2 separate regions of the Homo sapiens genome follow, and region 2 is linked to region 1. Evidence: promoter capture Hi-C in human tissues and cell types (Jung and others, 2019). All regions are on one chromosome and are shown on one strand. The core of a region is centred on a gene start or on the middle of the fragment in contact, and the rest is flanking DNA. Distances in the headings are between cores, read along the strand shown.

Region 1 (7,013 bases), core at 1,089-3,588:
AGGACATGAGGTCAGAAGAACTTATCCTAGGAATCTGTCATGAGGGGCAATTGATAGACCCATTTGATTGAGAAAGAGAGGATAGACAGGCTCCTTTTGTTTATGATTGCTGGAGTACATGATGGACAGGGAGGGAGTTCTCTGTTTCAGACACACGCTCCCTGTTTCACCATTACCTACAATTTTGGTGTCTGGAGAAGTGAGGCTCAAGTCTGGAAATGCACAGTGCCTTTAAGCCATTCCATAGAATCAAAGGTCATTGCTTAGCACTTGAAAGCATGGGAAGGAAGGAGACAGTGGCTAGTGGTCAGGTTTAAGAGGTAAAAGGGCCAGGGAATCCATCTAGCTTTGGAAAAATGCACTCCCGAGTAAAAAGCATGGGATTTTAGTCTAAATGGCAGAGAAGACTGTGCCAGGAGTCCACTTGGAGACCCTTCTGATTTCAGGCTTTTAACTTACCGTCATATTGGCAAAAAGAAATCTGATCCGTTCATGTTTCACCCCAACCCTCCACTAGGACAGTGCTTAGAGGTATGCATAATCTCTTTCATATTAAAAGCCTTTTAAAAAAGAAAGAAAGAAAGAAAGAAAGAAAGAAGAAACACAGGTGTGGAATAACCAGGCCAAGGCCTCCCTATGCAAGACTGGAAGAAAACCGCAAAAAACTTGCATGAGGCTTTCTACATTCTGGATAAGATCTCCCATAAAAGTAATTTTTCTCCCACAGAAGGGGGGTGTTCTGGCAGGCAGCTAGGCAAGGAATGATCTGCAGCCTTCATGCCATAGGATTCTCCTCTGAGATCAAAAGCATGGTTCAGTTAGTCTTCCCCACCCCCTCCCACCACCCGCAGCCTCTAGGATGTTACAAGTCATTTCCCTAATTATATATTTCCACGGGTTTAAATTATAACTTTGCTTTAAGCAGTTTTAATATGCATTAGGGCTGCTATTGTTTTAGGCAAGCTCGAATTGTGAATCACTGCATCTCTATAGCAACTAAGTACAAAAGGAAGTGAAGCAAAAGCCCTCCTCTCGGCAGGGACCTGTGCTCTTCCAAGGGGATCATCATCTGCAGCATTTTGACACCTGTGATCCGGTCTTTGCTGACAGTTGGAGGACAGAGGGCAGTATTGGAAGGGGAACAAGTGGAGCCAGAGAAGTCAAGAGGCAGAGGTGTCAATGCAGGCTTCCTAATGATTCTTTTCCTTCAGAAGCCAAGATAATGCACAATTAACTGCTCCAAGAGTCAAGACGAAAGTGAGACCTTACCCTTGGAGAAACAGCTGCTACGTTTCACAATTTTTTTTTTCTAGGGGCTCTCTGGCTACGGGCTGCAGGGACGACTGAATGGAGCCCTACAGAGCCAGGAGGGAGACAGGCAGCAGGGTTGGGGGTGGGATGTATAGGGTTTTCTCTGAATCCGCCCTGGATTTGTCAGACTTGAGGGCTATGGTTCTGAAAATCAGTCTGAAGAGGGAGCTTTTCTGTGTATTCTCTTAGGTAGAGAAGTCAAGAAGTGAAGAGGTAGAGTCTTAAGAGGAAAGGAAGAGGGACAGCATCAAACAAGCCAGGTCTTACCTTAGATCAGCTTCTGGAAAGTATAGAGAGCGCTTTGAAGCATGCCAACATTCAAGCCTTTCCTCCCCTCTCACCCCTCCCCCTCCAAGAGGGTACGTGCCAGATTTCAGGCAATCAGGCTAGGCTTATGCAATGAAATACCCTCAGCAGAGCGTCCAGCTTCTTCGTTTAGTTGCATGCAATTTATTAAACAAAGGAGCTCCACTGCCTAAGGCTATTGGATTACACTGGCAGTTTATTGCCATCAGGCATGAAGCACATTTATTATCAAGATCAGCCGTCACAGACACAGTTGCAAAAGGGAGAGGCAAATGAGGACAGCTCTTTGGGGGAGAAACCGCTCTTGGGTTTGCTGCTTACCTGAGTTTTGAGCCGCCACTCGGGATTTCCTGGGGCTCACAGAGTCATTCTGCTCCGCCTCATGGGTTGCAGAAGCACTGATCACCAGCACCAGAAGCACTGCTGAGTTTTGGAGCATTCTCTGAGAAGTTTCCGCTAAGTTGTTGGGTTTTTTTTTTTTCCTGCCCCCCTTTCCTCTTTCCCTCTCCTGGCTTGAGTGAAGATGTGGATCTGGATACACTGAAAGCTTAGGTGAGGATTTGATGAGGATTTTTTTTTGTTGTTGTTGCTGGTGATGCTGCTGCTGCCACCGGTGCCTCCGCTGCTGCTGCTGCTGCCGCCGCTGCTGCTGCTGCTGCCACCGCCGCTGCTGCTGCTGCTGCTGCAGTCGCTGCTTCTTGCACCTCTGGCTTTTGCAAACTGGGGGCCCAAGAGCTGCACCCAGGGATTTTATAGCCGTTCTTATCGGTCCTCAGGATCAAGGACCAATCAGGTCCCTCAACTGGTCTGGTGAGCCAATAAGAGGGCATGCAATTCAGCTGGAGCTTTTTGACTTCTTAGAAATATTTTCCAGCAAATTAAAAGTACCTGCTGCCAATGTTTTATATGTGTGTGTGACTGTGTGTGCAGAGATGTGTGAAAAAGCTATTTTCGTGGAAGTAAGAGATAACTCTGTATTGATTGAACTAAAGAAAAATCCTATAGAAATCTCTCCAAGTTGCTTTTTGAAATCTAGCCATCTTTTTTTCTAATGAGCCACTTGGGGGAAATGGATAGCAGGGGTATGGTGGGGAAATGTGATCTCTTTAGATGAGAACTTAACCTGCTTACAGCAGTTTTACTCTAATTTTAACAGCACATTCTCGGTTCTGTTTTGTAGGCTACAAATGCAATAACTCCCTATCTTCTCTGTGTGTACATGTTCACATGTCTATGATGCATTTTTGTTTGTATGTGGACATCCTGGGTTCTCACTCACACATTTGAGCCCTTGAGGGGGAATTTATGTGAGTGGAAAAGCCTTGGGGGACTGAGATATGACAGCTCAGAGCTGAAGCCTTAGTCCCCCTACTGATCAACCTATGACTCTGGCTAAGTCTTTTTACCTTGCCCCACCTCGTTTTCCCATCTGTAAAACGCCAAAGTTGGACTCTGACATTCTGTATACCTCTAAAATAATGTGATTCTTCAATAATCAAATCAACTTTGACTTCATCTTTTCAGTCACCAGCAAAATTGCATAGTCCAGGAGTGTTAGTTACCCCAGGTACACATGTGCACACCTGCACATACCACACTCAACAGGGAGACATCATGAATGCCTGAAAATTAATAATCTGTGTTCAAGCCCAGCAACTTTATAACCACTTTGAAACAATAAGCTGGCCAAAGCAAGACTAAACCTGCTGAATGGAAACCAGTTCATTTCTTGGGGAGAGGGGTAGGAAAAAAGGGGGCAGAATGGAAAGAAGGGGTAGAGAAAGACCAGAATGTGTAGGAGAGAAGAATGATAAGCTCTAGACTTAATAGGAAAATTGCACTGCAATCACAAATCATGCCTGGTATAGAAACTTATATTTTCTTATAAGTGAGTTGTAGGCAATGCTGAGGTTTGTCCCCAACATGTGAAGGAGGTTAATGAGCCAGAAGAGGACTTCTTAGGGTAGGAAGGTGGTGAAGGTATTATACAATAAAACCTTTAATAATTTTGGGGAAGTAGATGAGAAATGGCCACTGGTGATTCATACAGATTTGGGCAGGATAATCTTGCAGAGAAATGGGGCCAGTGGCTTTACTTTGCATCCTAAAACCTTCAAACAAAAGTTGAAGAAAGAGTGCCACCCCTGTTAACCACAAACTAAACCAAGTGTCAGCTCTGTGTATGTTGTGGGGTGATAGGGTGGTGGGGGGCGGGGGGGGGGGGGCGGCGGACGGTTCTGGGTGATGATAGCCTATCCCTCACAAAATAGGGTTGTTTGGTAAGTATGAAAGTTTGCTAGAAAAAGGAATAGAAGGAATAAAGGATACAGGAAATATCTAAAAGAAAGGAAGGGAATTTTCAGATTTACATTATATAACAAGAATACATTTTAATTTATATTAACAGGCAGTATTGGTATTTCTTTAGAACCTTCTGGGCTGAGTGCTAGGGGACAATGTGGGAGGATAAATGAGAAGACATAGAGAAGAAGGTAAGTTCATTATTCTTGTCCTGAAGGTACTTACAGGTGAGTTGGGAAGATGACCAGCCACAGTCATACTTCCTAAAGGTTCGGGATGTCAGGACCTCATATAGTAAGACACAGGCTCAGGCAGCACTGGCTGGAGATGGGGGGAAAGCTCTTGAGGGAAAGATCAGTGGGGAAAGATGTAAACTGCTGTTGTTGCTTTTTAAGAATTTAGGAAAAGCTATGCTATTTCATTTTTAAAAAACAAAGCTTGTATTGTGGAAAGCTTCAAGGTTATTTGTATTGCTTTAGTTAGAAGTAGTAGATGCCAGGCAAGGCAATAGAATTTCTCAGTGCTCTCTTCCAGAAAGGGAGTAAGAGGACAGATGCGTATTCCTCCCAAGGGTCTTGACTTCTGTTCTTTAGCATTCTCTACCTCCTTGGCCATTATTCATCATCTAAGGCAGTGCCATTTGTTTCTCTTGGGCTTTCCCTGAGTTGGTCTGCTTGGCTTGGTAGGGTGATGATTTACCACCAGCCATCTACTTTGTTTTTCCAACTCTCCGTTGCTCTCACCAGAACACGATGTCCTACAAGCATCAAGATGTGTTTGTGTTTTTTTTTTCTGATGTTGATTTATTATTCCTTCTTATTTTGCTCACTTACTATCTTGTGCCTGGAAGTTCATTGCTAGGTGTGCCAAGTGTTTCCCAATAACAGGTAAACTGTCCTTTGAAGAAATACAATAGTGGTCAGCCCATTGATTTGAATGTAACTAGTATGCATGCCAATGCATTTGAGAACCTTAGGGGAAGGAGCTGAAGTCTACATGAAATGCCCAGTGTAAAATTTCTGCCTAGAATGTCATGGTATGTGGATATCCAAGTGCCCTCAATCATTGTGCAACTGTCTGGAACTGTGATATAGCAAGATAAAAGGGTCTTGGGGGCCCTGGTGGTGATGTCTGGTTTCTTTGTAACTTCTCTTGGGGGTCTGAGAGAATATGGAGGAGTTTGCTTAGCGCTCTTCACAGTCTGAGTTTTATCCTGTAAGGAACAGGAAGTTATTCGGGCTCTTGAGTAGGAATTGTTAAATGATGGGTGGAAATAAGTGTTTAGGCAAGATTATTTCATCATACTTATGATGGTTTGGAGGAAGAAAAGAACAGAAGTTTTAAGACTTGTTAATAACAGAATTTTGTTGATGAGATTCTGGCCTACAATGGTTGTGGCAGGAAAGGAAGGGAGACAAATATGAGAGATGTTTTAAATGAACTGGAAATTATTAATTAACCTAAGGATTGTCTTGGGAAAAACCTTTCTCCCAGTTTAGTGGTAATGGAGATAATACACATGAGGACTTTTCCCTCCTTATATTTTAGTTATGACTTTTAGTTGACAGGACTATCTAGTGTCTCTGTTAGGCAGGTGCTTTCTGGCATACTGTTGAGCAGCAGAATTACCTAAAAAAAGGACTTGACTGCAATGTGCGCCCAAGTGCGCCCAAGTGCAGTGGGTGGGAGGGGAGGGTATACTTTGCCATTGCCCTGAGCAGGGAAAGTGCTAAGAAGTTGGTGGGAGAAGCTGCCAACACCTAAGACTGGGTGATGATGCCCTGGCTGTGCCCGTGCAAGGCTGGCATGAGTTCAGTGAGAAGATTAAGCCAAAAGTCTCTGGGGCTTTGTTGGATTTGGCTAGCTTAAAGCTAAGCAGTGAACAGCTCTTTGCCTTTTGGTGAGAGGAGCCCAAGAACAGAGCATGTTTTCTTGGTAAATGTTCGTGTGTGTGTGTGTGTGTGTGTGTGTGTGCGCACGTGTTTGGCTAACAGAATGCAAGACCCACCAAGGTTGTTTTGGCATAGTGACCAAAGTTGGACCATTTTTCTTTGGGAATTCTGAGCCTGTGTTTTTTTTGATTGGACTTTGGGCTGTTGATTCATGCCTTCCTAACCTCAAGACAAAGAAGAAGAAGAAGGAAAATGAGGAAGATGAGGGGAAAACATTTTTATTTACTCTTCTATAAAGGCACCAGATTATCTGTGTGGACAGTCCTCAATTCATGAGAAAATCTGTGCCATTTGCAAGTCTTTGATTGCTGTAAACTCTACTAAAGAAAGAAGGTGAGAAAATATATTAAGAGGGCAAACTCCCCACTTCTCTCCTTTGTTGATGGAAGGTGACTGTGTGCCTGGTTCTAGGTCAGGTGTTGTGGGAAATGCAGAGATGGTTGACCTTTGCCTGTGCTCCATGAATTCCCAAGCTAGTTCTTAAAGCATGCATGTTGTATTTGAAGAAGAATATCTGTTTTCTGGAAATACAATACAGCAAGTGGGTTGGAATAGAGTTTGTAGATTTGGATTCAATTAACATTTACTGGGTGCCTATCTGCTCTATGCCAGGCATTACTGCAGAAACTTCTTAACTGTGAGCAAAGAACTGCTCTCCTCCCTTCCCACAGGAGGATCTGGGGATCCAAAGAGAAGAATGGCTCTCCCATAGTCTTAAAGTGGATGGTAGAAAAATCTCCTGAGATTTGCTTATTACAGAAACAACTCTGGGTTCTTTAGTTGTGTGACCAGAGCAGTGATAGAGAGAGTGTACATGCTGACAGCCCTGCCCCTCAGGGTGCGGGGAGCAGGGTACAGGAAAAAGAAATAGGCAGGATGACCTGACATGCTTAAACCAGAACAGGCAAGTTGAAATTAGCCTCTACTCCTGTTAACATCTGCTTCTCATACCTTCACGTATAAGTTCCAATGTCACTTTATATCAGAGAGGACAAATTCATCATTCTAGAGCAGCCTGAAAATCTGCAAAGTTTCACATGAGGCTTCTGAAGCAAATAGGAAGAGGATTTGTGTGTCATGGAATCTGTCCTTTGAAATAGCTCTTGGGGAGACCTAAAATGACATTACTCTATTGAGACACAT
Region 2 (7,305 bases), core at 2,392-4,891, 80 kb before region 1:
AAGAGTTTTACTGTTCTTTTGGAAAGTGTGGGACTGAACAGGGAAAGAAAGATTAGGAAAAAATATGTAAAAACAAAATGTGTACAAGGAAAAACATAGTACACTAAATGTATGATATATATATATATATAGACATATCCATGTGAATATTGATTGATAATTTAACCACTAATTATGGTATAACAATATGGGGAGGATGAAGGAAGGGGGAAAGGGATGTTTGTATGTCTGATGGGAGATGGTGAGCAGTTGGTAGAGAGAGCTTGATCCTCATCTTCCATGCTAGGGAAATATAATATTTAAATATAAAAAGTTAAAGTATAATGTACATATGTTATTTAGAAAAACAAGGATTATGGAAAAATATCTTTAAAATTTGTTAAGCCTTGCAGCATTATTTAACTTCAAAAGCTATGCTTATGCATTCCTTTGATTTAAAAAATGAATGAAAAGTATTTCTTGCACAGCTTGGCTATGCAGAGCACCATCTAGAAGTGGGATCTTGAGTCACAGTAACTATTTTCTTTTTTTAAAGTTGAGAGGGGCTTAAATGCAATTGTAAGCTAAAATCTGAGGGAAGATAGAGATAGAAGATACAGAAAAAGAGGGAGAATTAATGTTTCAGGGATGGTCTCTAAAGCAAAAGTGGATGGAAGAATGAACTTTAGAACACTGTTTGGAGAAGAAGCGGTAGGTACAGAAACACTTAGGAAGCCGAGGGAGATCTTGCCTGAGGCATCCTGTTTTTGGTGAAATAAGAGGCAAGTACCTTATTCAGAGTGGAGATGTTGTTATGGAGAGGGTTTGAAAAGAGTATTAAAGTTGGAATCATTACTGCAGAGACTGGGGAAAGAGAGCTGACTCAGGTATATAACAGGATATCTTGGCAGACCTGAGGGTTTGGCTGAGAATGGAATCTATATATTGGGAATGTCGAATCTCCCCAGCTGTAATGTTTCTTTAGTAAGTCCTGTAATCCTGGGGAACATGGATAGTTGGGATCCTGGGAGCTTGAGGGACCAGCGTAGCTCAGGGCAGGACAAGGGAGTTGAGAGTGATGGGGAGAAGTGGTTGACATTCTTCCACTTAGGGTCTGGCCTGGACAAGGGTGGAGATGAAGCAGAGGAGGGTGAAGAGCTTTGGAGGAAAGGCTTCAAGGGCCTGGGTGCTCCATGAAGCTGGAGAGTAGGGTAGGAAAAAAGAGGGAGGAAGCTGCAAGGATGGGATGTTTTCACTGGAGGTGGGCTCCAGGGTCCAAGAGGCTAATATTTTGCTAGTGGAGCAGTTGACCTTGGGACAATGAAACCAGGGTGCTGGAAGCGTTGTCCACAGGATGCCAGCAGTGCTTAAGGTGAGGAAGAAGCTAGTGATTCAGTTGCCGAAGTTTGATGACCATAATGGGATTTACTGGGAGGTCAGGACATGAATACTGTGAGAAGAGTCAGTGAGTGGTAGAGCCAGACAGCATGGGGGCCAATAGGGAGGGACTTTCAATGTGACTATGAAGATCTGGGAGAATATTCCAGCTCTAGTATATGGGGCACAGGAATGCATGCAGTCCCCGTTCTAGAGAGCTACAAAGGAAAGCAGTGATGCTGGGGAAGGGTGAGCTTTAGTCAAGGCAAGCTGATGGAGAGAGTCTCTTTCAGTAGCATACATGGGGTTTTGAGTCAGCAGGGAGGCAGAGGAGCATGGGCCAAGGTCAAAGAGGAGAGGGTGAGAGCCCTGGAATTAACTGGTTTTGAGAGCCCTGGAATTAACTGGTTTTAAAAGCTTTGAGGCTGAAACATTTTCTTTTATTGGAAGAGAAATAAAGCTACAAAAGCAGTAGGGAGAAGGGTAAGGCGTGGTACATGGACTAATCTAGCCCCTAGGAGCACCCAAAATGCAAAACAAGCAAATAAGCCCCACAGGTGCCAGGGAACATGGAGATGCCTGTGCCATTGAACTAGCTGGAGTCCTACCAATTGTCCCAATTTAATACTTCTTTATAGGACAACCCAAAACTAGCAGGGTCTGCTTAGCATGATGAAGCTCAACTTATTTGAGTGCAAGGTGCTTCTAAGAATCTTGTCTTTCTCCAGGACTAAAATCACATTGGGAGTTGTAGGACAGTATCTTGAGTGGGACTCTCAGAACTGCCCCAGATTGAGCTTCTTAAAGTTACTCTTTGTCTGCCACTAGATGCATCTTCTAGGCTTTCTCACAACTTTGCTTGGCTGCAAAATCCCCAAATAAGCCAACGTTGAATTTTGTCTCCCCACAAACCATCATTCCGTTTCCTGACTCCTGCTGGAGATAACCACACAACTCTGTGGATTAACATCACTACAAAGGCCTGAAGGCTTGCTTTCTACTTTGTCAAGAAAAATGGAAACCAAAGGGCATGATTTTCTTCAATATATTTAAATCTTCCCAGAATCTTTTCCAATGTACCTGCAGCTCTGGTTTCCTTGCTGTTTTCTGCCGTCTCAGGGTGCACCTGTGCTCCGTGCCCATGGCCACCTGCTTTGCTGCTTTGCCTGTGCTTTTGACCACAGCTCCTATCACTTTGATACATTAACCTACCCCTCCATCTCTTTCCCTACCTTGGCCAATATCCTTGATCTTTCTGTCTCCTTGCAGTTCCTTCCTCTCAGTCTGTAAACATGGTTACTTCCTTCCCATCCTAATAATACGGATGTTCCCCTGACTCTCCTTTGACCTTGAAACCCCCTTAACCGCTTCGCAAACCATGACTGACACTGCTTTTTTGATGTCACAGCATCTCCCTAATAGCCATATCTGAAGGATTTTTTTTTGTACTGAGTTTTCTCTAGCTTTCCTCCGAATCTAATACTATGAATGACTTTCACCTTCTGAAAATGTTATACACTGGCTTCCAGAACTCCTTAGTCTCCTGATTTTTCTAGTTCCTTTCCAACCATTTATTAACACTTCCTTCAGGAGCTCCCTACCTTCTGTCCAGCTTTTTTTTTTTTTTCTTTTGAGACAGGATCTCACCCCATCACCCAGGCTGGAGTGCAGTGGCATGATCATGGCTCACTGCCACCTCAGCTTTTGGGGCTCAGGTGATTCTCTGACTTCAGCCTCCCAAGTAGCTGGGACTATAGGTGCGTGCCACCACACCTGGCTGATTTTTTGTATTTTTTCTAGAGACACGGTTTCACCATGCTGTTAAGTCTGGCCTTGAACTCCTAGGAAGAAGCAATCCACCTTGGCCTCCCAAAGTGTTGGGATTACAGGCATGAGCCACTGCATGTGGCCTTCTGCCCAACTTTTCACTGTTTGTGTTCTCTTGGGTCCTCTCCTTAGCCCATGGTCCTCCATCCTGGAAGAACTCATCGAAACCCATGACCTCAATTACGACCTACATGCTGGCAGCTTCCGGGTCTCCATGGGGACCCCCAGACATGTATATTCAGCTGCCTCCTAGACATCCTACTCAAGGTCCCACAGACACCTCAGCCCAATGTCTCCAACACTGGACTCACTCTCTCCTTAAACCAGCTCTGTTTCTGGTGATTTGAATGCCACATGCACCACCGAATGCCACCCCCCACCCGCCTATCTGCAATATCTATATCACCACCAAGACCTGCCAACTTTTCTTTCTAATTTTTAGATTTGTCTCTTATCTCCATTCCTATTAAAAACATTCTGTTTGAGTCTTTATTACTTTTCACCTTACTATTGTCAGTCTCCTGACTTATCTCTGCCTCTAATCTTGTTCCTATTCAATCTACCCTTCACACATCTGCCACGATGATGTGTTTAAAATGCTGATCTGATCACATCACTCCCCTTTCTTAAACTCCTCCAAAAGCTCCATGCTGTCTATAGGAGAAAGTTCAGACTTCCTAACAGCATGCAAAGCCCAGCACAAACCAGCCTCTCCAGATCTCTCTGCCTCCTCTGCCCTTTCTTCCTGCCTGCCCGTCTCACGTTTATGCTCTAACAACACTGGTGGCCTCAGCATTCTCAGCTCCTGCTGGGCTCCAGCTTACATCACTCTTCTGCTTAGATGGTCCTCTTGGTGAAGATGGTGCCTTTCCTCTTCCTGCCCTTTCTTTGACTATTTCATACTCACCCTTTAGGACCCAGGTCAGGTGAAACCTCCTCTGGGAAGCCTTCCTGGAGCCCTTAAACAGCTTCTGCTCAGAGTCCTCCAAAGTCTGCCAACACATGAGCACTGTGATGTAATGAAAAGAATAAGGACTGTAGAGGAAGCATGACCTGGATATAAGAGGCAGCACTGGGGCCTTGGGAAAAGTATTTTCCAATTTTGAGCTGCAGTTTTGCCATTTATGTATTGGGGATAATGATATTTCATTTATGGGGATAGTGGAAGGATGATCTTAAATAATGTACGTGTAGTGTCAGGGCCTATATTAAGTACTCAGTAAATAGCAGTTATTATTGACATCTTCATTGCTGTGTCTATTATAATATTTTTTATAACCCACATGTAGGGGGATCCTCACTTTTCATGCCTTTTAATTCTTGTTCTTAATGCATGAAGGATTACCTGGGAATTTACTGCCTTTTGGACATGGGCTTTTCTAGGCAGCTGTTGCTAATCAATGGTGACTTTGCCTTTAGAGAGGTGCTGATTGAAGGGTAAGAAATGGATGCCTCTCCAGCCTTGGCTCTGCAGCATGATTGAGGAGCAGTTCCTATGTCTTCCTAGAGTTTTTCCAGTCTTCTTCAGACCCAACTCTGACAGTGGAGGAATATGTCATTTTTTGAGGGGCTGTGTAGATGTCAAAAGAACAAAAGAGGGTGAACTGAATGGAGACGATATCTGTATCTAATGTGCTTGTTCCCTTGTGCCTGCCCAGGGAGGGCATTACAAATGGAGGTCTTTGAAAAGTGGACATCTCAGGTGGTGCTCCCTGTTTTCTGATCTGTTTTCTCTTCCTTTTCTCCATTACCTTTCACAGAAAACTCCACGGTTCCCCATACAAAGTGTACGCCCCCAACCCCTGCACCTTACATATCTGAATGCCTCTTGCATTGGCTGAATGTTGATGGGACTTGTCCCAATTTTCATTGCTGCCTGTGGCTGGGTAGAGTTGGACTTTGATTCTCAAAATAAGGATGGAGGTGGGTGCTCTAATTTCAGTGTGATCTCTCTACAAGTTTTAACTAAACTCAAGCTCACCTTATAAAGGCAGGCAACACAGTTGAGGCTTGAGGAAAGACTATTTCTTCTCCTGGTGTGATTGACTCAGCCTATTGCAAAGCAAGAAAACCTATCATTCGTGATGAGTATTCCATTCCACCCTGGTGGCTACCAATGCCCTTAAGCCTCAGCCAGTTGTTAACAGGCTGAGCCATCACACCTAGTTAATTTTTCAAAAAATGTTTCGTAGCGATGGGGTTTTCGTATCTTGTTCAGGCTGGTCTCGAACTCCTGGCCTCAAGTGATTCTCTCTCAGCCTCCCAAAGTGTTGGGATTACACGTATGAGCCACCATGCCTGGCCCAGTAACAGGTTTAATTAGATTTCTCATAGTTTTAAAATATCCTTTCCATAGGATGGGGGAGGAGAAGTCCTACTTCATTTTGACACAATTATCTGTTAATGTGCCTGTATTGCAGAGTAGCCTGTGGGTTTCTTGAGGGTACGGGCCGTGTTTTATTCATCTCAGCTCACTCAGTCTCTCTCACAGTGCCTCTTCATGGAAGGCTTTAATAGATGCTTATTGACTATGTGAATGAATTCCAAAGTTTAATGAGAAGTTTTTTGAACTTTTCTTTCTTTTGTATAAATCTGGAGCCTCAACTTACAAGAAACTTTCCCTAGCTCAGGTCTCCCCTTCCTGGGGGGCTCAGTATCTGTAAGTCAAGTGGGCTTTGGAATTACACATCAGGCCTGTAGAACATTTCAGAAGGTGGTTGGCTATTGATATTCATTAATTAACTCAGCAAGTATTTACTGAGGTCCTGCAATGTGCTTGGAAATGCATTAGGTGCTGGGACCAAAGGAAGGGAACAAGAGAGAGAGAGCGCCCTCCTGGAATTGACAAGTTTGCTCTAAAATCTTAATCTTTAGGCAATAGGGCAAAGTGAGTTTTAATGAAAGGAGGAATATACGGTGTGATTTCAGAGGACTTTTTCCTTGCTCCAGCTTGATATTTAAAACGGACTTTAGAGTTATATTATTTAGCTCTTTAATATATAAAAGAGCTAAATAATATAACTCTTTTATATAACCTGCTGGACAGACAATATCTACTAGTATTTAACACACTTGCAGGAAAAGAGCATTGGAGGGCAGGCTTTGATTTGAGAGGAGAGAAAGACAGTGAAGCCCCCTGGCTACTATGTTTGGAGAAACAGGATGCTCCTAGTGGGGGAAGGGAGAGAATGAAGGACCTGGGGTCCCAGTGACTGATCTAGAGGAGCAGGGCAAGGCAGTACAGAGTTGACAGTCACTGGGTTCTCAGCTCTGCCACTCATGAGTGGGTTAACCTCTGGTAACATCTTCAAAATTCTAAGGGTCTGACATTTTTTCATTTATAACATGGAGATTATGACACCCACTTTTGTAAAGTTATTACTTTTTTCACTTTGACAGTTTGCCTAGATGTGTGTGACTTGTGAGCAGAGGCATTATTCTCTGTTGAAATGCAAACTGTTGAAAAATAGAAAACTATCATTGACCATAGGCACATTGGTAAGAATTGGGGTTTATCAAATAAAAGTGGTCACCTTGGAAAATAAAGGCAAATACCAAGATTATGCCTCTTGGCTAGGCCAGATGTGTATGTTGAGAAGGGAGGATAAGTGTTTTACAGACATGAGCCTGAGTTTATTCCACAGTGAGGGGAGGCTTGAGCAGCTACAGTACATAAGGAGGGAAGGAGGCCTCTGCAAATAGGAAGAAGGCCCAGGGTTTGGGATGGGAACATGAACTCGCTCCTATGCCTCCTTCACAGTATGTTGGGCTCAGTGCATTTCTCTATACACATCTCTTTTTCTGTTTAACATTTTATGAAATCATCATAGGAATATAAGATGCTTCTATGAGAAAGTCTGCATCCATTAAAGGCAACATTTTGCCATAGGGAGATAGAGATAGGAATATATAAAGACAGACAGGGAGGGAGAGAGACAGAGAGAGAAGGGGAAGAAGAAGGGGGAGACAGGGAGGGGAGAGGAGGAAAGGGTAGGGAGGGAAGGGAACAAGAAAAGGAAATGAAAGAAAATAAAAGGAAGGAAAAGAAAAGGAAAGAAAAATATATTTGATGGTCAATGTTATGTCAAGGGCAGTATCCGCTGTCCTGGTCTGATGGCGACG

Evidence for each region. Contacts are between HindIII fragments. The study calls those that stand out against the background at their distance.
Region 2: a contact is called between a fragment that was not itself captured here and the fragment with the promoter of STC1 in region 1, in 2 of the 25 tissues and cell types used here (liver and thymus).

What each region holds. Positions count from the first base shown.
Region 1 is chr8:23,852,468-23,859,480 of GRCh38, forward strand. STC1 (stanniocalcin 1) reads right to left here and starts at 2,339. Exons shown (of 4, transcript NM_003155.3): 1 at 1,939-2,339. The coding sequence starts at 2,056. The HindIII fragment of the contact is 6,962 bases long and covers 347-7,013 here.
Region 2 is chr8:23,770,805-23,778,109 of GRCh38, forward strand. The region is part of intron 3 of LOC107986930 (a long non-coding RNA gene); the gene reads left to right. Among named protein-coding and RNA genes, the nearest start is that of NKX2-6, 68 kb to the left of the region's middle. The HindIII fragment of the contact is 7,348 bases long and covers 1-7,305 here.